7 separate regions of the Homo sapiens genome follow, and regions 2, 3, 4, 5, 6 and 7 are each linked to region 1. Evidence: promoter capture Hi-C in 16 types of primary human blood cells and fetal thymus (Javierre and others, 2016). All regions are on one chromosome and are shown on one strand. Each heading gives the region's core, a stretch centred on a gene start or on the middle of the fragment in contact. The rest is flanking DNA. Distances are from core to core; before and after follow the strand shown. Region 1 holds the start of PCDHB7 (protocadherin beta 7). Region 2 overlaps LOC105378198 (a long non-coding RNA gene). Region 3 overlaps DIAPH1 (diaphanous related formin 1). Region 4 has its middle 4.6 kb from the start of PCDHA1. Region 5 holds the start of PCDHA9 (protocadherin alpha 9). Region 6 overlaps DIAPH1 (diaphanous related formin 1). Region 7 holds the start of PCDHA5 (protocadherin alpha 5).

Region 1 (3,400 bases), core at 200-2,699:
ACCAAGGTCATATATTATTTTGAAAAAAATGCATTTCAAAATATCAGTAAAGTAGAGCTCTTGCAAGTCTCACCAAGAATAAAAAGGAGTTAAAATGCTAAACATCACTAATAAAAATAGGGATACAATTAAAGGTAAATAACGCAATGAAAACAATTCCAAGAAATTTGCAAACTAGATAAAATGATTTTCAAAATAAAATGCAAGTTACTTAAAAATACAAAACCTGAACAGATTAATAACCAAAGGTAAAATGTAAATGGTAGTCACTGATCTACTGCAAGTGAAGTCACCAAACCCAACCAGTTTAAAAGACAAGCTGGAATTAAGCATGTAGAAACATATAATAATATAATTATTAAAACTATTGTATAAAATAGATAAAAAGCTCCCTAACACATTCTATGATGCCAGTATAATAGTTTAATACCAAGGCCATAAAAGGCAAACACGCACTAGGTAAACAACATTAACTAGAAAAATCCTAAAACCATGTTGACACATCATATCTATCTGTGCACTAAAACAATAATACATTATGGTTAAATGTCATTTATATCAATAACTCAGTAATTTAGAAACTAAAGAATAAATGTATTATTTCAACAGCTATCAAAAATCACTTCAAAATATGAAAGAATAAAAAGAAAACTTTATTGATTCAAAAAAGGAATATTTACCCCAAATTGAGATCAACCATCATAGTTGAAGATGAAATGCTAGAAGCACTTCCACAAATGCAAGATTGACCAACTTGCTACTACTAATTTTAAGAGTATTCATTGGACATTGGAGATTCTAGTCACTGAAATTATAGAGGAACAATAATTTCTTATGTAATACTTAAATCAGGTGAAGGATGAAGGTTGGGTTTGGGGGAGGCATAAAGTGTTCCAAGAAATATCACAGGTAAAGAGTTAAGACCTGGAAAGTGGAATAATTGTTTAATTCACAAGAAATTGGGAAAAGGGTCAATTATTCTGCCATATTCACATTATTATTGTTAAATACTTTACAAATAAATAAAATGTCCCCAACCAATATTTGTTGACTTCAAGGAGGAGGTTTCATTTTCTCATATATATTTTTACTATCCATTTTTAAAATAGGAGATTTTCTTAGGATTTCGGTGGGGAGTCAGAGTTTAGTTTCATGCTCCTAGATTTAAGAAGACTATAAATTAATTCTTCTACGAATCCAGATTATCACAGGGGAAAACGACATCAGCTATTACTTACTAGCATTACTGTGACCATTTGAGGATAAAGATGGAATGAAACAGCAAAGATACCGGGGACAAATCATTCTTGTTGCAGAATTCCTTCAATCCGCCATCTTTTTGTTCTAGTCTTGATAACGGGAATAACATCCACAAAACGCAAGGTGGCGCTGCTGGCTAAAAAGAGAGAGAGAAAAATAATTTCACAAAGAAAGGATGTTACAGATTCCAGAGCAAAGAGGCAATCTGAAGAGAAAAGCATAGGAAAGGAAACAGTGGTAATAGGAATTGGGGTAAAATGAGGATCCTTCCCCACAAACATTGCTATTATTCAGCTCATTTCAAAGGATTCCGCTGCTGCCATTTGTGAGAGCCGCTGGAGGCTGAGTGAAAGTCATTTTGAAAGACTGATCCAAAGAAGAATGGAGGCCAGAGTGGAGCGTGCTGTGCAGAAAAGGCAAGTCTTATTTCTTTGTGTATTTCTGGGAATGTCTTGGGCTGGCGCCGAACCGCTTCGGTATTTTGTGGCGGAGGAAACCGAGAGAGGCACCTTTCTTACCAACTTGGCAAAAGACCTAGGGTTAGGGGTAGGGGAACTGAGAGCCCGGGGAACTAGAATTGTTTCAGACCAGAACATGCAAATTTTACTGCTCAGTTCGCTTACTGGTGATCTACTTCTAAATGAGAAATTGGACCGAGAGGAACTGTGTGGCCCCAGAGAGCCCTGTGTGCTGCCTTTCCAGTTGTTATTGGAAAAACCTTTTCAGATTTTCCGTGCTGAACTATGGGTCAGAGACATCAATGATCACGCTCCAGTATTTCTAGACAGAGAGATTTCCTTGAAAATATTAGAAAGTACCACTCCAGGGGCGGCATTTCTCCTAGAGAGTGCACAGGATTCAGATGTTGGAACCAACAGCCTGAGTAACTACACCATCAGCCCCAATGCCTATTTCCATATTAATGTCCATGATAGCGGGGAGGGGAATATCTATCCCGAATTGGTGCTGAATCAAGTGCTGGATCGGGAAGAGATACCAGAGTTCAGTTTAACCCTCACCGCTTTAGACGGCGGCTCTCCTCCAAGATCAGGGACCGCCCTCGTGCGCATTCTGGTTCTAGACGTAAATGACAACGCCCCTGATTTTGTGCGGTCGCTCTACAAGGTGCAGGTGCCCGAAAATAGCCCCGTTGGTTCCATGGTTGTCTCCGTGTCAGCCAGAGATTTAGATACCGGAAGTAATGGGGAAATAGCCTATGCATTTTCTTACGCCACTGAAAGAATTCTCAAAACGTTTCAAATCAATCCAACATCTGGCAGTCTTCATCTTAAAGCGCAATTGGACTATGAGGCAATTCAAACTTACACATTAACTATTCAGGCCAAAGACGGCGGCGGGCTTTCTGGAAAATGCACTGTAGTGGTTGATGTAACAGATATAAACGATAATCGACCCGAGCTGCTCCTGTCTTCACTTACTAGCCCAATTGCAGAAAACTCACCCGAGACAGTCGTGGCTGTTTTTAGGATTAGAGACAGAGATTCCGGGAACAATGGAAAGACAGTGTGCTCCATCCAGGACGATGTCCCCTTCATCCTGAAGCCATCTGTCGAAAACTTCTATACTCTGGTAACAGAGAAACCTTTGGATCGAGAGAGGAACACTGAGTACAACATCACCATCACCGTCACCGACTTGGGGACACCCAGGCTGAAAACCGAGCACAACATAACCGTGCTGGTCTCCGACGTCAATGACAACGCTCCCGCCTTCACCCAAACCTCCTACACCCTGTTTGTCCGTGAGAACAACAGCCCCGCCCTGCCCATCGGCAGTGTCAGCGCCACAGACAGAGACTCGGGCACCAACGCCCAGGTCATCTACTCCCTGCTGCCGTCCCAGGACCCGCACCTGCCCCTCGCCTCCCTGGTCTCCATCAACGCGGACAACGGCCACCTGTTTGCCCTCAGGTCCCTGGACTACGAGGCCCTGCAGGCGTTCGAGTTCCGCGTGGGCGCCACAGACCGCGGCTCCCCCGCGCTGAGCAGCGAGGCGCTGGTGCGCGTGCTGGTGCTGGACGCCAACGACAACTCGCCCTTCGTGCTGTACCCGCTGCAGAACAGCTCCGCGCCCTGCACCGAGCCGTTGCCCCGGGCGGCCGAGCCGGGCTACCTGGTGA
Region 2 (3,112 bases), core at 502-3,001, 420 kb before region 1:
TTTTCTGGCTCCTTGAGGTTAGGAACTCACTGCACTGGGTAGACTGAGGTGCTCCTGCATCTTTGGTTTCAGCATTCCTACAGGTGGTGACAGTCAAAGCATTTCATAAGGCAGTGGCAGCGGGGTCCATCCTCATTTGCATGTGCCAGAAGCAGCATGGCAGGGTACATGCTTATTGGCTGTAGCCTGGTGCTCATGGGTGTTCGGGCATTCATAACAGTGGCAGAGACAGCATGGCTCAGGGGTTGGGGTCCCTGCTGGTGACTGACTGCGTGTGTGGTTTGCTGGTGGTGGTGTTAGCATGGGGGCAAGGTGCTGGCAGGTGCAGGACTGTGTGCACCTTCTGTGTGTTTTCATGTAGGTGGAGGTGGTCACTTAGGGCAGTGGAGGGTCCACTCTTCTCTGCCTAGTTTCACTCTGGTGACAATGTTGGTGCTGGGGCAGGGTGCTGGTGGTGGCTGGGCTGCACTCTGACTACAGTGGAAGTATGATGGGGGAGGTGGTGGAGTGGACTGCACTTACCCCAGCAGCAGTGGCAGCAGAGGGTTCATGGGCACACACATGCTGGTAGGACAGGGAAGGTAAAATCCACCCATGCACATATACTCCAGCAATATAGGGGTGGTTGTGGGCCTGGAGTGAGGGGAGGGAGTGGGTGGGCTGGTGCAGTCTGCCAGCGCAGGAGCTATGATGCAGCCCCCCGAGGGCACTCGAGGCTGCATTGCAAGCAGGTGCAGCCAGGCTGGGGCCCTGCGAGAGGTCAGCAGGCAAAGGGGTGCTCACGTCAGACTGGCCTCATTTGGTGGGCAAGACTGCCCTGAGAGCTCATGTCCAACAGTTCCCCTAGGGCTAAAGTCTCTTATGGGAGCAAATCAAGCCTAGGGGGATGGGCATCCCTGATTATGCTTCACTACAGACATTACCACAACAAACCCTCTGGGCTCTGCACCAGCTGGAGTGCTTCCCCTACCACTTCTCTAAGCAGCTCTCCCTGCCAACTCAAGTGTCCATGGTGGTTGAGGGGTCTCCTCCTGCCCAGATTCCAGAGGCATGTGGTGAGGGCAGGTTGCTCCTTTCCAGTTCAACTTGCTCCTTCCCCTGGAGTAATTGGGGGCTTTTTTTCAGGTTTGATATCGGAGTAATGCTGGCCTCGCAGAATGAGTTTGAATGTATTCTCTCCTCTTTAGTATTTTGAAATATTTTGAGAATAATTGGTATTCTTCTTCTTTTTTTTTTTTTTTTTTTTTGGGACAGAGTCTTGCACTATCTCCCAGGCTGGAGTGCAGTGGTGCGATCTCGGCTCACTGCAAGCTCAGCCTCCCAGGTTCACGCCGTTCTCCTGCCTCAGCCTCCCGAGTAGCGGGGACTACAGGCGCCCGCCATCACGCCCGGCTAATTTTTTGTATTTTTAGTAGAGACGGGATCTCACCGTGTTAGCCAGGATGGTCTCGATTTCCTGACCTCGTGATCCACCCGCCTTGGACTCCCAAAGTGCTGGGATTACAGGCATGAGCCGCCGCGCCCGGTTTTTATTCTTCTTTAAATGTTGGTAGAATTCAGTAGTGAAACTACCAGGTATTGGGCTTTTCTTTGATGGGAGACTTTTTATTACTGATTCGATGTCCTTACTCATTATTGGTCTCTTGAAATTTTTTTATAACTTCATAATTCAATCTTAGTAGGTTGTATGTGTCCAGGAATTTATCTGTTTCTTCTAGGTTATTCCATTTGTTGGTGTAAAATTGTATAATAATGTCTTATGATCCTTTTTATTTCTGTGGTATCAGTTATAATGTCTCCTTTTTCATTATTGTTTTGTTTGTCTTCTCTCTATTTTCCTTAGGTAGTTTAGCTAACTGTTGGCTGGTTTTATTTTTTCTCAAAACACCAACTCTTAATTTTGTTGCTCTTTTGTATTTTTTTCAAGCCTCTATTTCATTTATTTATATGCTGATATTTTTTAGACGAGGCCTCACTCTGTCACCCAGGCTGGAATGCAGTGGTGTGATGTTGGCTCACTGCAACGTCTACTACCCAGGCTCAAGAGTTCCTCCCACCTCAGCCTCTTGAGCAGCTGAAACCACAGGCACCTGCCACCACGCCTGGCTATTTTTTTTTTTCATTTTTGGAAGAGATGGTGTTTCACCATGTTGCCCAGGCTGGTCTTGAACTCCTGTGCTCAAGTCATCCATATACCTCAGCCTCCCAAAGTGCTGGGATTACAGGCGTGAGCCACCTCATCTCACCTAAATTATGACCTTTATTACTTCCTTCTCCTAATTTTAGATTTAGTTTGTTCTTGTATTTCCAGTTCCTTGAGGTATAATGTTGGATTCTTTATTTGAAACCTTTCTTCTTTTTGAATGTAGGTGTTTATAGCTATAAACTTTTCTCTGAGAACTGCTTTTGCTGTATCCCATAAGTTTTGGTGCATTGTGTTTCCATTTCTATTTGTCCAAAAGGGATATTTAAATGTCTTTTAATTTCTTCATTGACTCATTGGTTTTTCAGGAGCATATTTACTCTCTATGAATGTATAAAGTTTCTGAAGTTCCTTCTGTTATTGATTTTTAGTTTTATATCATTGTGGTCAGAAGAGACAATTGATATGATTTCAATCTAAAATTTGTCAAGGCTTGTTTTGTGGCCTAACATATTATCTATTCTGTTAAATATTTTATGTACAGTTGAGAAGAATGTGTATTCTGCAGCTGTTGGATGGAATGTTCTGTAAATGTCTGCTAGGTCCATTTGGTCTACAGTGCAGTTTAAATCTGAAGTTTCTTTGTTGATTTTCTGTCTGGATGACCTGTCCATTGCTGAAAATGGATAGCAAATCCCCCTAATATCATTGTATTGCAGTCTTGTTCTCCCTTTAGATCTATTAATATTCGCTTTATATATTTAGGTGTTCCAATATTGGATGCTTTTGTATTTACAATTGTTATATCCTCTTGCTGAATTGAACTTTTATTATTATATAATGACTTTCATTGTCTCTTTTTAGAGTTTTTGACTTAAAGTTTATTTTATCTGATGTAAGTACAGCTATTCTTGCTCTCTTACAGTCTCCATTTGCATGGAAATTCTTTTTTTTTTTTTTTTTTGAGAC
Region 3 (3,553 bases), core at 88-2,587, 350 kb after region 1:
TTGCTTTTAATGAACCAAGCCTGATAGTAACTCTCCTCTTCCAACTCCTCAATGAGTCTTTGTATACTGGTCACTCCCCCAGGTCTCCAGAGACCGGAAGAATTTAACATTCCTTTAAATTCTAGGGAAAAAGCTAGTGTCTTTGAATAGGGACAGCTGCCTCTCTGGAAAAAAGGAGGGCTATGAGGCAGATATGTTCCACAGTGCCTCTGTTTTTTTAGCTCAAAGCAATCAGCCAAGAGGAATAGTCAGAGACAGCCAGGCAAGGGGTGGAACAGCCAAATTCAGTAGCTGCATAGAGAAACCTATAGCCAGTGGAGCCTTTGTATTTTGAGAATGGGGCCATCTAAGTCCAGCCTCTCTCTCCTCTTAATCCTGTTGTCACTGCACAAAAAAAATATTAGAGCTGGAAGGGACCCTGCAGACCATTCATTCTAGTCCAACTCTCATTTTATACCTGAGGAACTGAGTCCCAGAAACATTAAGTGACTTGCTTAGGATAACACAGACAGCATCAGAACTAGATGTGACTTTAGGTCTTTTGATCCCTACCTAGCCCTGTGTTCTTTGTAATCTACTCTGATGGCTATCCTCCTGTTTAATGTGAGACCGCATCACATCACTTTACATGATGTGAATGCACCAGGGTCTAAAGAGTTACCAGAATAACTACAAATGTCTCCCTTGAGATTCTCCCAGATATATTCAAGTGTATTTAGTGGACCCAGAGCCTAGAAAGATAAGCTTATAGGCTAGAGCCACTTAAAATATATGTAATTGTCATTTCACCTACTTTCCAATTTAGTATCTCCTAGTATAAGTCTCCTCCTATTCCCTCTTGCATGGGAGAGAGTACTTTGACTAATTCAGGTCCTCTGCTGGAAGGTTAGTTTCCAACAAAATTCCTCCTTCCTCCACCTGTGAGTTCTGATTTTCTACTTGGAAAGAAGTGAAGAATGGGGCTTCCCCAGCAGAGGGAAGCCACTGATGTCTGGCTACCTGTGGACAGGAAGCATCTGGGATTCTAGTATAGTTCCACAGGAAGAGGCTTAAAAGGGAATTCCCCACCAAAATTCTGATGCAGGCACTTAGCCGACGGGGTCAAAAAAAAAAAAAAAAAAAACAATAAGATGCAATGTATTTTTGTAAGGCTAGAAATGCTTAATGTTAAGGCCACATCACCTTGTGTGGTCAGTAGGAAATAATGTTGTAAGAACCTATAAAGACAAAATACAGGAGTAATAGTACCTCTAGCTGTACTCTCCTTGCAAACACCTATCTATAAGACTAAATGCTCGAGCCCAGAGAGTACTCAGCTCTTCATATCCACTTCTCCCCACGCTTTAGAAAGCCTGTACTCAGAGAATGCCAGAAAATGGGTAAGAACTTTGACTCGGGAGCTTTCAGTTTGGGGAACATTCTGAAGTCATACAAGAGAACCCTCAGAAGGGAGTATCACTCTGGTTATTCAGAGTATAGGTAGAAATGGGCAGCCAGCCATTACAGATGAAACTCACAGTGATGGCTGTTGTTGGGCCAGAATACTGAGTTTACATAGGCTAGCATGCTCTAAGGTCCCCCTTTCCAGGCTGTGGCAGGTACTACAGGCCCTACAGATACCACTGTATTAATAGCTAAGCACTGGCCAAAGCAAGCTGTGTTAACTCCTTCTGTTTACAATAATCTCAAAGTATAACTATCAAATGGGCCTACACAATGCAACAGCCAGGAAACAGGGAACATAGATTTAAGTCCCTCTGAAGTAGAAACCTCTAATGATGCCTTTTTTTGTAATTCCCACTCTTCAAATTAGTAAAGAAGCCACCACTCCTAGCCTCAAAAGACCTTCACTAGACACGATAGTGCAGGTCAACTCCACATGAGGGGCAGACTTGCCTATACCTTCCTTTGAATTAGTCTCTTGGCCACTGTAAGCTTCCCTGAAAGGGAACTTATTCATTAATCTTTTCCCATACTAATGCCTGGATCACTTGTCCTAGCTCCATAATTCTTTTTAGAATCTCTAGCTCAATGTAATCCACTTAGATCTTCCAAAGGACATGAAAGGAGATTGCAGGGCAGTGATGGGGAAGGCAAGGGCAATAGAGGCTAACTGCACTCAAGGAAAAGGTAGTTTTCAGACACGGCATAATCCTTCAACTGAGATGCTCCTCTATATTTTTCTATCTGGGAATAATGATGCCTAAACCTGTCTACAAAATTTTATACTTTCTATTATTAGTTCTCTCTACGTATGTCTTCTGCTTGTGAAGTCCAGAGTAAGGACTCTGACTTATTTTTTCTTTGAATTTCAATCTATATCTAATATACATTTTGTATTTAGATCAACTTTTGTTCATACACACAAATGCCAACTCAAATCCCTGGGTCCTGCAGCTCAGTTCCTTTGTTCCAAATATCTGCTTCAAGAGTGGGGAGAAATGCGGCATAATCCAATGTAACTGATTTATTGCCAGTCCCTTAAACCCCAGTTTTCTAAGTCGCTACTCTGTAACATGGGAAGAAGAGGACTAGATAATCCGTTCTGGATGCAGGGACTAAAAAGATGCTTAGAGCATCATTATTTGCTCTTTAGCCGCAGACTGGCAGGAGTAGAGAGCCCTCACCCCCTTCGACACCCAGGATGAGCTCCATGTGCTTACTTACCTTGACGGGGCCCTCTCTTCCGTCGGAATGCTGCCCCTGACTGCAGGGCTTCTAGAAGACTGTCCATCACACCTGTCTCATCGCCCTCTGTTATAAAGAACAAGATGGAGATGTGAACTCTTCAGCCAGAGCAGCATGGCAAATATCAAGCCCCACACAAAATGAATGGCTATTGCTTGATTTCCCCTCTCCCACAGCAGCTGGCAGCTAAGAAGAGGCAAAGAGAGCTCAGCCTTAAGTCTCACACGCTCATGTTTACTTGTATCTGCTAAAAAATGGTTAAAACAAAAGATCTCATTGCCTATTATCCAATGCAGACCTTGGGATATTTTCCCGCAATGCCATCCTCCCCACCCCAATCAGGACTAGCAACAAAATTATACAACTGCCCAACTCCAAGACCAGGATAAGTAGAGACTACGATTGTGAAATTACTAAGCAACTATATCACTCCCTTTTATCCTAAAGTGTTTTGCCTGGTTAGGTTTCAGAGCAGGGCCGAGGAAAGACCACTGATCAAAGAGTGCACTTTCCTGAAGTACTGCCTCCAGTGGCTAAGTCTTCCTGATGTCTAAGTCCTCTGCATCTAAGAGGAGCAGCCTGGCTGGAATACAAAGAGTTAATGTAGAATCCTTGTTCTAGCCTGGCTCGGTTTCCATGACAACAGCTTAGGATAGTGAAATCTGAAACTGTGAAATCCCAAAAAGTCCATAGGCTGCCAGATCCAAGGCTGGGGCTCACTGCTCCCAGCGCCACCTGCTGGCTGAGCATCACCAGTGCAGCTGACCTACATTCCACCCTCATTTGCTTGACCCGGGTACTGGAAACTGGGCAAGGTCCATTACGCCACCTGTTGACCGTGTGCAGCCCTCATCCCACATGTCAG
Region 4 (3,510 bases), core at 117-2,616, 390 kb before region 1:
ACTGTAACAGGAGATGACACATGGCTTTAGCAGTATGATCTTGAAGACAAAGCACAATCAAAGCAATGCTACCAAGAGGTGCAAATGGCCTAGTCAAAGTAAAAGCAGGCTGGTCAAAAGCAAAGGTCCCAACACACACAAAAAGCAAAGGTCATGGCAACAGGTTTTGGGGATGCTCAAGACATTTTGCTTGTTGATATAGCTTTTACATTTTTAATTTTAATCTCCCTGTATTTTTATATTTCAAGTGAGATACTCATAGGCAGCATGTAATTGGGTCTTTTTTTGATTCACTTAGTCAGTTTTTTTTTCTCTTTCTTTTTCTTTTCTTTTCTTTCTTTCTTTTTTTTTTTTGAGACAGGGTTTTGCTCTGTCACTCAGGCTAGAGTGCAGTGATATGGTGTTGGCTCACTGCAGCCTTGATCTCTCAGGCTCAAGTGATCCTCCCACCTCACCCTCCTAAGTAACTGAGAGTACAGGTGCATGCCACCATGTCCAGCTAATTTTGTTTATTTTTTGTAGAGACAAGGTCTTACTATGTTGCCTAGGTTGGTCTTGAACCCCTGGGCTCAAGAAATCCTCCCACTTTGGCCTTCCAAAATGTTGGAATTACAGGCACAAGCCTCTACACCTAGCCTAAGATTTTTTCTTTTTCATTTATTTTCAAAAGTTTGCCTGTTATATGCCTTGGTGTGGAGTCTTTGGAGTTCACTCACCTCTCTATATTGTTTATCAAATTTGGGAACTTTTTAGCCATTTTTTGAGTTATTTTTAGCCTTGTCTCCTTTGCCTTTTCTTTCAGTACTCCACTGACATGAATGTTGGAGCTTTTGTTAAGTTCCCACATGTCCCCAAGGTACTGTTCTTTTTTATTCTTTTAGTCTATTTTGTTGCTGTTTTTCAAATTGCGTAATTTTTATTTATTTACTTATTTGTTATGTTTTTAGAGATGGGGTCATGCTCTGTTGCCCTGGCTGGAGTGCAGTGGCATGATCATACTGCACCATAACCTCAAACTCCTGGGCTTAAGCAATCCTCCCACCTTCACCTCCCAAAGTGCTGTGATTACAGGTGTGAGCCACTGTGCCCTGCCCAGATTCAGTATTTTCTATTTTTCTTTTAGTTTCCTTATTCTCTTTTTTGACCACTCCATTCTTCTATTTGGGTTTTTATTTTGGTTATTGTACTTTTTTCCAAAATTTTCATTTGGTTCTTTTCATCATCTATTTATTTGCTGAGACTTTCTGTTTCATTGCTGAGGGTTTCTATTTTTTTATTCGTTTCAAGCATATTTGCAATTGCTCATTGAAGCATTTTCATGGTGACTGCTTTAAAATTTTTATCACAGAATTCTAACAGCTCTTTCATCTCATTGTTGGCATTGGTATGTTATTTTTTAAATTTAATTTATCTTCTTGGTTATTGGAATAATGAGTAATTTCTTCATATTGAAACTTGAACATTTTTATATCATGTTTTGAGACTCTAGAGCTTACTTATTCTATTTTAGCTAGTTTCTCCTGACACTGTTCTGTCAGAGAGAGCATTGGCACTACCTCATTACTGTCACTTGAAGATAAAGCCCAAGTTTCCCATAGGCCTACATTGACAAATGCATGGACATGTCCTCTATACTTCTAGGTGGGGTGGAAGTTTTGGCCCCACCATGTGTTCTCCATAGACACTAAGGTAGAGATGCCCTTGTTATCACATGGTGAAAGGTCTTGGCTCTCCACTAAAACCTCCTCTGACATCACCTGATATGGTTTGGATATTTGTCCTCTTCAAATCTCATGTTGAATTGTGATGCCTAATGTTGGAGTTGAGGCTATCAGGAGGTGTTTGGGTCATAAGAGTGCATCCCTCATGAATGACTTGGTGCTATTCTTGGGGTAGTGAGTGAGCTCCCACTCTGTGAGTTCACACAAGATCTAGTTGCTTAAAAGAGTGTGGTATCTCCTTCCTTTTCCTCTTGCTCTCTCTCTAATCATGTGATATGCTGGTTTTCCCTTCGTGTTCAGCCATGATTGGCAGCTTCCTGAGGCCTTCACCAGAAGCAGATGCCAACACCCTGCTTCCTGTACAGCATGCAGGACCATGAGGCAAATAAACCTCCTTTCTTTATAGATTACCCAGTCTCAGATATTACTTCATAGCAACACAAAATGAACTAATACAGAAAATTGGTACCAAAGACTGGGGTGTTCCTATAAAGATATCTGAAGATGTGGAAGCAGCTTTGGAGCTGGGTAACGGGCTGAGATTGGAAGAATCTGGAGGTCTCAGAAAAGACAGGAAGATGAGGGAAAGTTTGGAACTTCTTAGAGACTTGTTAAGTGGTTGTGACAAAAATGCTGATAGAACTATGGATAGCAAAGGCCAAGCTGATGAGTTCTCAGATGGAAATTAGGAATTTATTGGGAACTGGAGCAAAGGTCACTCTTGTTATGCCTTAGCAAAGAACTTGGCTGCATTGTGTCAATGTCCTGGGGATTTATGGAGGGTTGAACTTAAGTATGATTACCTAGGATATCCAGTGGAAGAAATTTCTTTCTTCTTTTTTTTTTTTTTTTTTTTTAAGGCGGAGTCTCGCTCTCTAGCAGGCTGGAGTGCAGTGGCACAATCTCGGCTCACTGCAAGCTCCATCTCCCGGGTTCATGACATTCTTCTGTCTCAGCCTCCCGAGTAGCTGGGACTACAGGTGCCTGCCACCACGGCTGGCTAATTTTTTTTTTTTGTATTTTTTTAGTAGAGACAGAGTTTCACCGTGTTAGCCAGGATGGTCTCGATCTCCTGACCTCGTGATCCACCCACCTCGGCTTCCCAAAGTGCTGGGATTACAGGCATAAGCCACTGCGCCCAGCCAGGTGGAAGAAATTTCTAAGCAGTGAAGCATTCAAGATGTGTCATGGCTGCTTCTAACAACCTATGATTAGATATGGGAGCAAATAAATGACTTAAAGTTGGAACTTATATTTAAAAGTGAAGTGGAGTGTAAAAATTTGGACAAGTCACAACCTGGCCACGTAGTAACAGAAGGAAAAAGCATTTTCAGGAAATAGATTCAAGAGGGCTACAGAGAAACCACTTGCCATGGAGATTAGCATGACTAAAAGGGAGGCAAGTGCTAATACCTAAGATAATGGGGAAAAGGCCTCTAAGCCATTTCAGAAATCTTCCAGGTAGTCCCTCCCATCACAGATCCAGAGACCTAGGAGGAGAGAATGAGTTTGAGGACCAGGCCCAAGGCCCTGCTGGCATGTGAAGCCTTGGGACACTGCTCCCAGGATCCTGACTGCCTTGGCTCCAGCTGGTACAGGTACAGGCCACAGGTACAGCTCTGGCCACTGCGCTGGAGAGTGCAGGCCACCATAAACCTTGATGGTTTCCACATGGTGTTAAGCCTGTAGGCGCACAGAATGCAAGTGTGAAGGAGGCTTGGCAGCTTCCACCTAGATTTCAGAGGATGTATCAGAAAGCCTGGATGCCTAGGCAGAAGCCTGCCATAGG
Region 5 (3,340 bases), core at 624-3,123, 320 kb before region 1:
GGATTACAGGTGCATGCCACCATGCCCTGCTAATTTTTTGTATTTTTAGTAGAGTCGGGGTTTCACCATGTTAGCCAGGATGGTCTCGATCTCCTGACCTCCTGATCCGCCCACTTCGGCCTCCTAAAGTGCTGGGATTACAGGCATGAGCCACCGCGCCCAGCCTAAAATGCTTTCTTAGCAAGTAGAGAAGATTGTAATAACCAGTCTTCATTAAACATTAAATAGGACCCTTACAGATCTCTAACAGCATATCATCATGTCAGGAATTATTACTGAGCCCCAGCCCCTGGCTTTAAAATTTGAGGTCAAATAAAGAATATGAGTCACACAATGCAAGGCAAGATAATGTAACAGGTACAAGAGGTAAATCAGAATGACGTTGAAGTTGAAAGACAATCATTTCCTATTTGAATTTTTGAAGAAATACTTGAAGGGGCATGGTGTGTTTCAGTGGTTTTAAAATAAGTAAGTTCCCCCCGGGAGAATATTGAGAATGATAGACATTTCTTGGAAAGAGAAAACATAAGGAAAGTTGAAGACACAGAAAGCATCAATATGACAAGTAGAAAAGTCCACTTTGGTTAAAACACACAGTCTGCAGAGAATGAAAGCAGGAAAACCAATGTAAGAAGATCTCTTGATTTCTGAGTAATAAACTAAAGGGCCATGAGTGATTAAGGAATTTGGCCACTCTTTAGAATTAATTGGGAGCTATTTAACTACCTTGAGCAAAATAAATCACGACTTTTGAAAGAAGGTTGAACGGGAAGACAAACTCAGAAGCTCCTGCAGTAATCAAGGACAGAAGCAATTGTTAAATGCACCTCTTAGGCTGTTATCAGTAGAAATACGAAATAAAAGATAAATATGCAAAAACATTAATGGCACAATAAACACTCACGGTTTTGCCTTTAGACTTGAGATACACTAAAATCTAGATTTAATTAATCGACTTGGACGTTGGAATAAGATAGTAAAACTCACAACAAAACTTTGTAGAACTTAGTCAGGAAAAGAATCTCAAGCATAGCTTTAAAAACAGAAATTGCCCCGAGTACTAAGGATGAGCAATAATGAAATTAAAACATATTGTAATAACATTACACAAACTATATTGGAGACTACAAAGAAGAGATTATTCATAGATTATAAAGCTTGGAAAGAATCAAAACAACACATTTCTGGAAACAGATTGTATAAATGCTACAAAAGAGAAAAATATATTTTCTCCCCACGCAACACAAGACCTTAAAGTCAATTCTCGCTTTTCTTGCAATATTTTATACCTTTTCAATTCATAGAATTACTCAAGAAAACTACCTCAGTTGGTTGCTACTTTTTGTTGATTCCTTTTACCAGACATGACTAAGTTTCTTTTTCATCAGTAGATTTCTGGGCTCCTATATTCACTAGAGATTGCAACTCCTGGATTTCTCTTACACTAGAATCCTATTTCGAGCCATATGGGAGATTCTGAATTCCAGAACAAAAGAATTTTGTAATTTAAAATTCGTGATTGCTCAATGGAATCATTTTAATTGTTACTTCATTTCTGTCGTTATTTAAAACTTAAGTGGAGAGTTTTCTCAGGGATAAGAAAACCACAATCAAGGTCATACAAAACTTTTAGAGGCAGTCAGTCTGCTAAGAAGGCTCCAGCAAGAGAAACGGGATCTTCTGTTTCAACAATCATTACTTAAGAAAAAATTAAGAAAATGAAATAAGTTTTGCAGAATAACTGTGAAATTTTTATTCATGAAATATGTACTTACACTTTGGGCCACGTGATGTCACTCTTTGCCGCGATGTTCTCTCTGAATCCAGACAAATACAGCCCTTTTCCCATGGGAAAGAGGCTCAATTCTTTTTCACTCTCTCTGTGCTGAACGATGGCGAACACAGCAGAATGGGACTGACGAAATCAGATGATTTCTTCTAATTTGGAGGCAATTTTCACTAATTAGAAGAAGACTGAGTATTTGAAATGTTATACTCAAGTCGAGGAGATCCAGAGGGTCAGCCTCTACTGCTCTCGCTTCTGATCCTCGCAATGTGGGTGGTGGGGAGCGGCCAGCTCCACTACTCCGTCCCGGAGGAAGCCGAACACGGCACCTTCGTGGGCCGCATCGCGCAGGACCTGGGGCTGGAGCTGGCGGAGCTGGTGCCGCGCCTGTTCCAGTTGGATTCCAAAGGCCGCGGGGACCTTCTGGAGGTAAATCTGCAGAATGGCATTTTGTTTGTGAATTCTCGGATCGACCGCGAGGAGCTGTGCGGGCGGAGCGCGGAGTGCAGCATCCACCTGGAGGTGATCGTAGACAGGCCGCTGCAGGTTTTCCATGTGGACGTGGAGGTGAAGGACATTAACGACAACCCTCCAGTGTTCCCAGCGACACAAAAGAATCTGTTCATCGCGGAATCCAGGCCGCTTGACTCTCGGTTTCCACTAGAGGGCGCGTCCGATGCAGATATCGGGGAGAACGCCCTGCTCACTTACAGACTGAGCCCCAATGAGTATTTCTTCCTGGACGTGCCAACCAGCAACCAGCAGGTAAAACCTCTTGGACTTGTATTACGGAAACTTTTAGACAGAGAAGAAACTCCGGAGCTTCATTTATTGCTCACGGCCACCGATGGAGGCAAACCCGAGCTGACTGGCACCGTTCAATTACTCATCACGGTACTGGACAACAATGACAATGCCCCAGTGTTCGACAGAACCCTGTATACGGTGAAATTACCAGAAAACGTTTCTATCGGAACGCTGGTGATTCACCCCAATGCCTCAGATTTAGACGAAGGCTTGAATGGGGATATTATTTACTCCTTCTCCAGTGATGTTTCTCCAGATATAAAATCCAAGTTCCACATGGACCCCTTAAGTGGGGCAATCACAGTGATAGGACATATGGATTTTGAAGAAAGTAGAGCACACAAGATCCCAGTCGAGGCTGTCGATAAAGGCTTCCCACCCCTGGCTGGTCATTGTACACTTCTTGTGGAAGTTGTGGATGTAAATGACAATGCTCCACAGTTGACTATCAAAACGCTCTCGGTTCCTGTAAAAGAGGACGCACAACTGGGGACAGTTATTGCCCTGATTAGTGTGATCGACCTAGACGCAGATGCCAACGGGCAGGTTACCTGCTCCCTGACGCCCCACGTCCCCTTCAAGCTGGTGTCCACCTACAAGAATTACTACTCGTTGGTGCTGGACAGAGCTCTGGACCGCGAGAGTGTGTCCGCCTACGAGCTGGTGGTTACCGCGCGGGACGGGGGCTCGCCTTCACTGTGGGCCACGGCCAGGGTGTCTGTGGAGGTGGCCGACGTGAACGACAAC
Region 6 (3,348 bases), core at 581-3,080, 370 kb after region 1:
CATGGTGAAAGCCTGTCTCTACTAAAAACACAAAAATTAGCTGGTGGTGGTGTGTGCCTGTAATCCCAGGTACTCGGGAGGCTGAGGCATAAGAATCGCTTGAACCCGGGAGGCGGAGGTTCTAGTGAGCCAAGATTGTGCCACTGCACTCCAGCCTGGGCAACAGAGCAAGATTCTGTCTCAAAAAAAAAAAAAAAAGAAAGAAAAAGAAGAAAGAAAGAAAAAGAAATGAACAACTAGAAAGAGAAATAAAGTACCATAAGACAAAAGCAAATAAATAAATAGAAAAGAGAAAGAAACACTTCAGTTACATTTCAGTTATGTGAACAAAAGTTACGTGACCCAACTGTATGCTAAAAACCACAAAACACTGATGAGAGAAATCAAAGACCTATATAAATGGAAAGATACATGATGTTCATAGAACATAAAATTCAACATTGAAAGATGTATATTTTCCCCAAATCGATCTACAGATTCAACATATCCTTTCATCCTATTAAACGGAATCACCATGTGACCTAGCAAATCCACTCCTAAGGCATATATCCCCCAAAACCAAAAACAGCTACTCAAATGGATACAAGTACATGCACATTCATAGCAGCTCTATTCAAAATAGACAAAACGTAGAAATAGTCTAACTGTCCACCAGGCGCAGTGGCTCATGCCTGTAATCCCAGCAGTTTGGGAGGCCTTGGCAGGCGGATCATGAGATCAGGAGTTCGAGACCAGCCTGGCCAACATGGTGAAATGCCATTTCTACTAAAAATACAAAAAATTAGCTGGGCATGGTGGCGCATGCCTGTAATCCCAGCTACTCGGGAGGCTGAGGCAAGAGAATCACTTGAACCCAGGAGGCAGAGGTTGCAGTGAGCCAAGATCGTGCCACTACACTCTGGACTGGGCAACAGAGTGGGACTCTGTCTTGGGAAAAAAAAAAAAAAGAAATTGTCTGTCTGTCAATTAATGCATAAACAAACTGTGGCATATGCAATGGAATATTATTCTGCCATAAAAAGTAATGAGCTACTGATAACATGATACAATGTGGAGAATTCTCAAAAACATCATGCTAAAGTGAAAGAAGCCAGACACAAAAGTCACATATATTATTTCACTTATATGAAATATTCAGAAGAGGTAAATCTATAGAGACACACATAGACTGGTGATTGTTAGGAGCTAAAGGGATGGAGGAATGAGGAGCAACTGCTTAAAGTGTAAAGGATTTCTTTTGGGAGTGATGAAAATGTTTTGGAACTGGATAGATATGATGGTTGTACATTATGAGTATACCAAATGCCACTAAATTGCTTGCTCTAAAATGGTTAATTTTATGTTGTGTGAATTTCATCTCAATAAAATTGTTTATTGTCTTACATGTTTAAAAACTAATTCAATTGGTGAAACTTGAATATGGATTGTATATTAGATAACAGTATCCTATCAATGATAAATTTTCTAAATGTGATAATTACACTGTGATTATAGAACTTGTATTTAGAAGATGCATGCTGAAGAATTTAAGGGTAAAAGGTCATGCTGTTGGTACTTCATCTCAGTTTAGTTACAAAAAAAAAAAAAGAAAATGTTCATAGTAGCATTATTTATAATAGCCAAAAAGTGGAAACAATCCTAATGTCCATCAACTGATGAATGGAAAAAACAAAATGTGGTGTCATAAAAAGGAATGAAGTGCTAATACATGCTGCAACACGAACCTTGCAAGCATCATGATTAGTGAAAGAAGCCAGACACAAAGGGCACATACTTTATTAATTATATTGACACAACATGTCCATGACAGGCAAATCCATATGATAGTAAGTAAATTAGCAGATGCCAAGTTGGGTGGAATGGGAAGTAGGAAGTGGCTGCTAGTGGATTCAGGGTTTCTTGTAAGCGTGATAAGAATGCTGTGGAATTAGATAGTGGTAATGGCTGGACAACTTTCTGAATACAGACTATCCCTGACTTAAGATAATTCAACCTAACAATTTTTTTTAGCTTATGATGGTGCAAAAGCCATATGCATTCAGTAGAAATTGTACTTCAAATTTTGATTCAAAATTCATTATCAACATTATAAAACTGGCTTTGCGTTACATTATTTTGTCCAATTGTAAGCTAATATAAGTGTCCCGAGCATGTTTAAGGTAGGCTAGGCTAAGAAAGATGTTTGGTAAGTTAGGTGTTATTAAATGCATTCCAACTTAACAATATTTTCGACTCACAATGGCTTTCAGGACATAATTCTATTGTAAGTCAAGGAGCATCTGTACACACACAAAAAATGGGATTGTATACTTTAAAGATGAATTTTATCATATGTGAATTATATGTCAATACAATCAATAGATAAATGTATACATGCATATAGACAAGCATGCATCTATACAACGGACCATAGAACTAAATGGAAAACCTAAAACTACCAAACATCTAGAAGAGAACAGGGGAAAATCTTCACAGCTTTGAGGTGGTAATAATTTCTCAGGTAAGACACAAAAAAAAGTATAAATCGGCCGGGCGCGGTGGCTCACGCCTGTAATCCCAGCACTTTGGGAGGCTGAGGCAGACAGATCACAAGGTCAGGAGATCGAGACCATCCTGGCTAACACGGTGAAACCCTGTCTCTAGTAAAAATACAAAAAATTAGCCGGGCGTGGTGGCGGGCACCTGTAGTCCCAGCTACTCGGGAGGCTGAGGCAGGAGAATGGTGTGAAACTGGGAAGTGGAGCTTGCAGTGAGCTGAGATGGCACCACTGCACTCCAGCCTGGGCGACAAGAGTGAGACTCCATCTCAAAAAAATAAAAATAAAAATAAAGAAAGAAAAGAATACAAAACATAAAAAGAAAAATTGATGAAGCAGACTTCATCAAAATTAAAAACTTCTGTTCTTTTGAAGCCATTATTAAGAAATGAGAAGACAAGATTGGGAGAAAATATCTGCAAAACACTTATCCGATAAAGAACTAGTATACCCAACACAGATTAAAAAGTTATGACTAGATCATAAGAAAACAACCCAATTTTAAAAAATGGACAGATTTGGAAAGTCACTTTACCAAAGAAGATATACAGATGGCAAATTAAGCACAGAGAAAGCTGCTCAATATCATCAGTAAGTCATGAAAACTATGTACTAGGAATTAAACTCATTAGGAATTAAAACTACAAAGTCTAACCTTTTAAAATCACTAAAAACAAAACCAAACAAAACTTATGAGACTTAAGTGTTGGTGAGGATGCAAAGCATTTGCAACTCTCATACATTGCTAGTGGAAATGAAAAATGGTACAGCCACTTTGGAAAACAGTTTGGCAGTTTCTTATACAGTTAAA
Region 7 (3,491 bases), core at 279-2,778, 350 kb before region 1:
CTAAATATTTATTATCATTTTCTTATGTTTTTAACCATTGTGTATTAAAATATTTCAAAATTATCAGTATGAAAACTATTAGGCAAATAGTCTGGGAAATTGATTTGTGTTTCAACGATCCAAATATTAGTGAAAAGTCATGATAATAGAGATAGTAAAAATCTTATAAGGGAACTGGTAAATATATCTTTAAAGATTGTATCAGAAACAATTCTATGACAATATCTTGTTTCTTTACAAGTTTGAATTCCAGAAATCAAGTGAATTTCCTCTGACTTTGCATTTTCTGGTAATTTCTTTTTTCTTATCAAGCTATATTTTAAATGTAAAAGTATCCAACAATAGAATTGCTAATCTCTTGGTCCCTCTTGTCTTCACAGGTAAGGGATATTTTGTAATATTTAAGGAATTTTATGGAGTATATATACAAGCAGAATGTTAGCTATTTCTTCAATAGAAAACTTGGTGATATTTTCTTTTGCCCATATTTATTAAGTGAAGTTTACTAAATTTTCTAGGTCGTGTTCAAATCATACCATCCAGTAAACAGTTGGGAGATTAAAAAGTAATTAAACTAATATAAAGATAGCCTGGTTAATAAAATGATATTCTTTTCAACATGATTATATTTACTGGAACCTAAACATTTTGTGAAATAGTATGTCATATAGACAATATTAGGATTTTGACTTGTTATGTAAGTACAAAGGTATGTATTTTACAATTTTTAATAATTGCTTTATCAGTAATAGCAACTTGAAGAAATGCTATCTAGATGCTTCTAATTTGAAAATAGTGCAAAGACGATTTACCAAAGTCGTTCTATTATGCTTTTGATTTCTAGAAAGCTGAAATATCCCCATTACAGTTTTTGAGTCAATACAAAAAGTAGATAGGTGTTATAGATAAAGAAATAGGTTTTCATCGATTTGAAAATTAGAACTCCGAGAAGAAACTCAGGTAAGAATGCCATTAAAATAGTTTTAGTTGTTTTTGAAAATAACATCAACAAAATGTCACTATTAAACAGTGAAATTGGAATAAAAATTTGTTTTATGAGTAACACGGAGATAGCATACAAACATTCCATTGACTAATACAGAAAAAACTCAAAAGTTTTAATTAGATATGTTTAAATAGAGATGAGAAAAGTCAAAACTTTAACTCTTAAAAGTTATTTTTATCAGTTTGGAAATATATAAACTCCTCCCTATATAAAATACACCAGCACAAATTTCTCTAGTAAGGATTGGGGTTTCATGACTTTAGATGTATTTTTCTGTAATATTTTAATGACGCACTTATATTGACGCATTTTAAGATAGAGTTTAATGATATATTTTGACTAGAGATAAGTGATTTAAAGAATAAGAATCATGTCATTGAAAGTGAGAATACTTGAGAAATATTGACGAATATAAGCTAAATAAAGCAAAACAAAATAAAACACTTACCCTTTCATCCACATGATGTCGCTGGACACCGGAAGGTTTTTCTCCCTTCCCAGCCTCAAAGGAATACAGTGAGTAGATTTTCCTTAGACAGAAAGGAAAAGAACCTTCCATTTTTGGCTGTGCCAAGAAGCTCAGAAAGGCGATAATATAAAAAATATATAGTTAATTGGGAATTGAATTTACAAAATACATTGTGTGGTGATGCAATAGAAAGCTCATAATTGGAACGAGATTGAGATGGTATATTCCCGGAGAGGAAGTCTGGGATCCCGGCTCCTGCTGCTCTGGCTTCTCCTTGCCTACTGGAAGGCAGGGAGCGGCCAGCTCCACTACTCGATCCCGGAGGAAGCCAAACACGGAACCTTCGTTGGCCGCATCGCGCAGGACCTAGGGCTGGAGCTGGCGGAGCTGGTGCCGCGCCTGTTCCGGGTGGCGTCCAAGGGCCGCGGGGACCTTCTGGAGGTAAATCTGCAGAATGGCATTTTGTTTGTGAATTCTCGGATCGACCGGGAGGAGCTGTGCCGGCGGAGGGCGGAGTGCAGCATCCACCTGGAGGTGATCGTGGACAGGCCGCTGCAGGTTTTCCATGTGGAGGTGGCAGTGAAGGACATCAATGACAATCCGCCCAGGTTCTCCAGACAAGAACAAAGATTATTCATTTTAGAGTCAAGAATGCCAGATTCGCGGTTTCCGCTAGAGGGCGCGTCGGATTTGGATATTGGAGCAAATGCACAATTGAGATACAGGTTAAATCCAAACGAATATTTTGACTTAGATGTTAAAACAAATGAAGAAGAAACGAACTTTTTAGAGCTGGTTTTGAGGAAATCCTTAGATAGAGAAGAAACACAAGAACACCGTTTATTAGTGATTGCAACTGATGGAGGAAAACCCGAACTAACAGGTACAGTTCAGTTGTTGATCAATGTATTGGATGCTAATGATAACGCCCCAGAATTTGATAAATCCATTTATAATGTCAGATTGTTGGAAAATGCACCAAGTGGGACATTAGTTATTAAACTGAACGCCTCAGATGCAGATGAGGGCATCAATAAGGAAATAGTGTATTTCTTTAGTAATCTTGTTCTTGACGATGTAAAGTCCAAATTTATAATTAATTCTAATACTGGTGAAATAAAAGTTAACGGGGAACTGGATTATGAAGACTATAACTCATATGAAATTAATATTGATGCCATGGATAAAAGTACATTCCCATTATCAGGACACTGTAAAGTAGTAGTGAAACTCCTGGATGTGAATGATAATACCCCAGAGATGGCCATAACCACCCTTTTCCTGCCTGTCAAAGAGGACGCTCCACTCAGCACGGTCATTGCTCTGATCAGCGTGTCTGACCGTGACTCAGGTGCCAACGGGCAGGTGACCTGCTCCCTAATGCCCCACGTTCCCTTCAAGCTGGTGTCCACCTTCAAGAATTACTACTCGTTGGTGCTGGACAGCGCCCTGGACCGCGAGAGCGTGTCGGTCTATGAGCTGGTGGTGACCGCGCGGGACGGGGGCTCGCCTTCGCTGTGGGCCACCGCCAGCGTGTCTGTGGAAGTGGCCGACGTGAACGACAACGCTCCGGCGTTCGCGCAGCCCCAGTATACCGTGTTCGTGAAGGAGAACAACCCGCCAGGCTGCCACATCTTCACGGTGTCTGCACGGGACGCGGACGCGCAGGAGAACGCCCTGGTGTCCTACTCGCTGGTGGAGCGGCGGGTGGGCGAGCGCCCGCTGTCGAGTTACGTTTCGGTGCACGCGGAGAGCGGCAAGGTGTACGCGCTGCAGCCGCTGGACCACGAGGAAGTGGAGCTGCTGCAGTTCCAGGTGAGCGCGCGCGACGCGGGCGTGCCGCCTCTGGGCAGCAACGTGACGCTGCAGGTGTTCGTGCTGGACGAGAACGACAACGCGCCGGCGCTGCTGGTGCCTCGAGTGGGTGGCACCGGCGGCGCAGTGAGCGAGCTGGTGCCGAGGTCAGTGGGTGCGGGCCACGTGGTGGCGAAGGTGCGCGCAGTGGACCCTGATTCG

What was found. Contacts are between HindIII fragments. The CHiCAGO score rates a contact against its expected background, and 5 or more counts as called.
Region 2: a contact is called between a fragment that was not itself captured here and the fragment with the promoter of PCDHB7 in region 1, in 6 of 17 cell types (M1 macrophages, M2 macrophages, M0 macrophages and 3 more). The highest score is 9.2, in M1 macrophages.
Region 3: a contact is called between a fragment that was not itself captured here and the fragment with the promoter of PCDHB7 in region 1, in 7 of 17 cell types (naive CD4 T cells, naive CD8 T cells, naive B cells and 4 more). The highest score is 7.5, in naive CD4 T cells.
Region 4: a contact is called between a fragment that was not itself captured here and the fragment with the promoter of PCDHB7 in region 1, in 8 of 17 cell types (M1 macrophages, M2 macrophages, monocytes and 5 more). The highest score is 11.6, in M1 macrophages.
Region 5: a contact is called between the fragment with the promoter of PCDHA9 here and the fragment with the promoter of PCDHB7 in region 1, in 7 of 17 cell types (neutrophils, M0 macrophages, M2 macrophages and 4 more). The highest score is 11.6, in neutrophils.
Region 6: a contact is called between a fragment that was not itself captured here and the fragment with the promoter of PCDHB7 in region 1, in 5 of 17 cell types (naive CD4 T cells, naive CD8 T cells, non-activated CD4 T cells and 2 more). The highest score is 6.3, in naive CD4 T cells.
Region 7: a contact is called between the fragment with the promoter of PCDHA5 here and the fragment with the promoter of PCDHB7 in region 1, in 9 of 17 cell types (neutrophils, M0 macrophages, monocytes and 6 more). The highest score is 13.8, in neutrophils.

What each region holds. Positions count from the first base shown.
Region 1 is chr5:141,171,195-141,174,594 of GRCh38, forward strand. PCDHB7 (protocadherin beta 7) reads left to right here and starts at 1,450. Exons shown (of 1, transcript NM_018940.4): 1 at 1,450-3,400. The coding sequence starts at 1,642. It also overlaps PCDHB@. The HindIII fragment of the contact is 10,030 bases long and covers 1-3,400 here.
Region 2 is chr5:140,753,054-140,756,165 of GRCh38, forward strand. The region is part of intron 3 of LOC105378198 (a long non-coding RNA gene); the gene reads left to right. Among named protein-coding and RNA genes, the nearest start is that of PCDHA1, 32 kb to the right of the region's middle. The HindIII fragment of the contact is 5,694 bases long and covers 1-3,112 here.
Region 3 is chr5:141,521,476-141,525,028 of GRCh38, forward strand. It overlaps DIAPH1 (diaphanous related formin 1), which reads right to left. Exons shown (of 28, transcript NM_005219.5): 27 at 2,668-2,754. Among named protein-coding and RNA genes, the nearest start is that of PCDHGC5, 34 kb to the left of the region's middle. RefSeq lists an enhancer at 1-41. The HindIII fragment of the contact is 1,191 bases long and covers 743-1,933 here.
Region 4 is chr5:140,779,759-140,783,268 of GRCh38, forward strand. No RefSeq gene overlaps it. Among named protein-coding and RNA genes, the nearest start is that of PCDHA1, 4.6 kb to the right of the region's middle. The HindIII fragment of the contact is 6,118 bases long and covers 1-3,510 here.
Region 5 is chr5:140,846,509-140,849,848 of GRCh38, forward strand. PCDHA9 (protocadherin alpha 9) reads left to right here and starts at 1,874. Exons shown (of 4, transcript NM_031857.2): 1 at 1,874-3,340. The coding sequence starts at 1,988. The region is part of intron 1 of PCDHA1 (protocadherin alpha 1); the gene reads left to right. The region is part of intron 1 of PCDHA2 (protocadherin alpha 2); the gene reads left to right. The region is part of intron 1 of PCDHA3 (protocadherin alpha 3); the gene reads left to right. It also overlaps PCDHA4, PCDHA5, PCDHA6, PCDHA7, PCDHA8 and PCDHA@. The HindIII fragment of the contact is 21,410 bases long and covers 1,156-3,340 here.
Region 6 is chr5:141,541,503-141,544,850 of GRCh38, forward strand. All of the region lies in intron 18 of DIAPH1 (diaphanous related formin 1), which reads right to left. Among named protein-coding and RNA genes, the nearest start is that of DIAPH1-AS1, 15 kb to the right of the region's middle. The HindIII fragment of the contact is 6,929 bases long and covers 1-3,348 here.
Region 7 is chr5:140,820,085-140,823,575 of GRCh38, forward strand. It overlaps PCDHA5 (protocadherin alpha 5), which reads left to right and starts at 1,529. Exons shown (of 4, transcript NM_018908.3): 1 at 1,529-3,491. The coding sequence starts at 1,692. All of the region lies in intron 1 of PCDHA1 (protocadherin alpha 1), which reads left to right. All of the region lies in intron 1 of PCDHA2 (protocadherin alpha 2), which reads left to right. All of the region lies in intron 1 of PCDHA3 (protocadherin alpha 3), which reads left to right. It also overlaps PCDHA4 and PCDHA@. The HindIII fragment of the contact is 13,774 bases long and covers 1-3,491 here.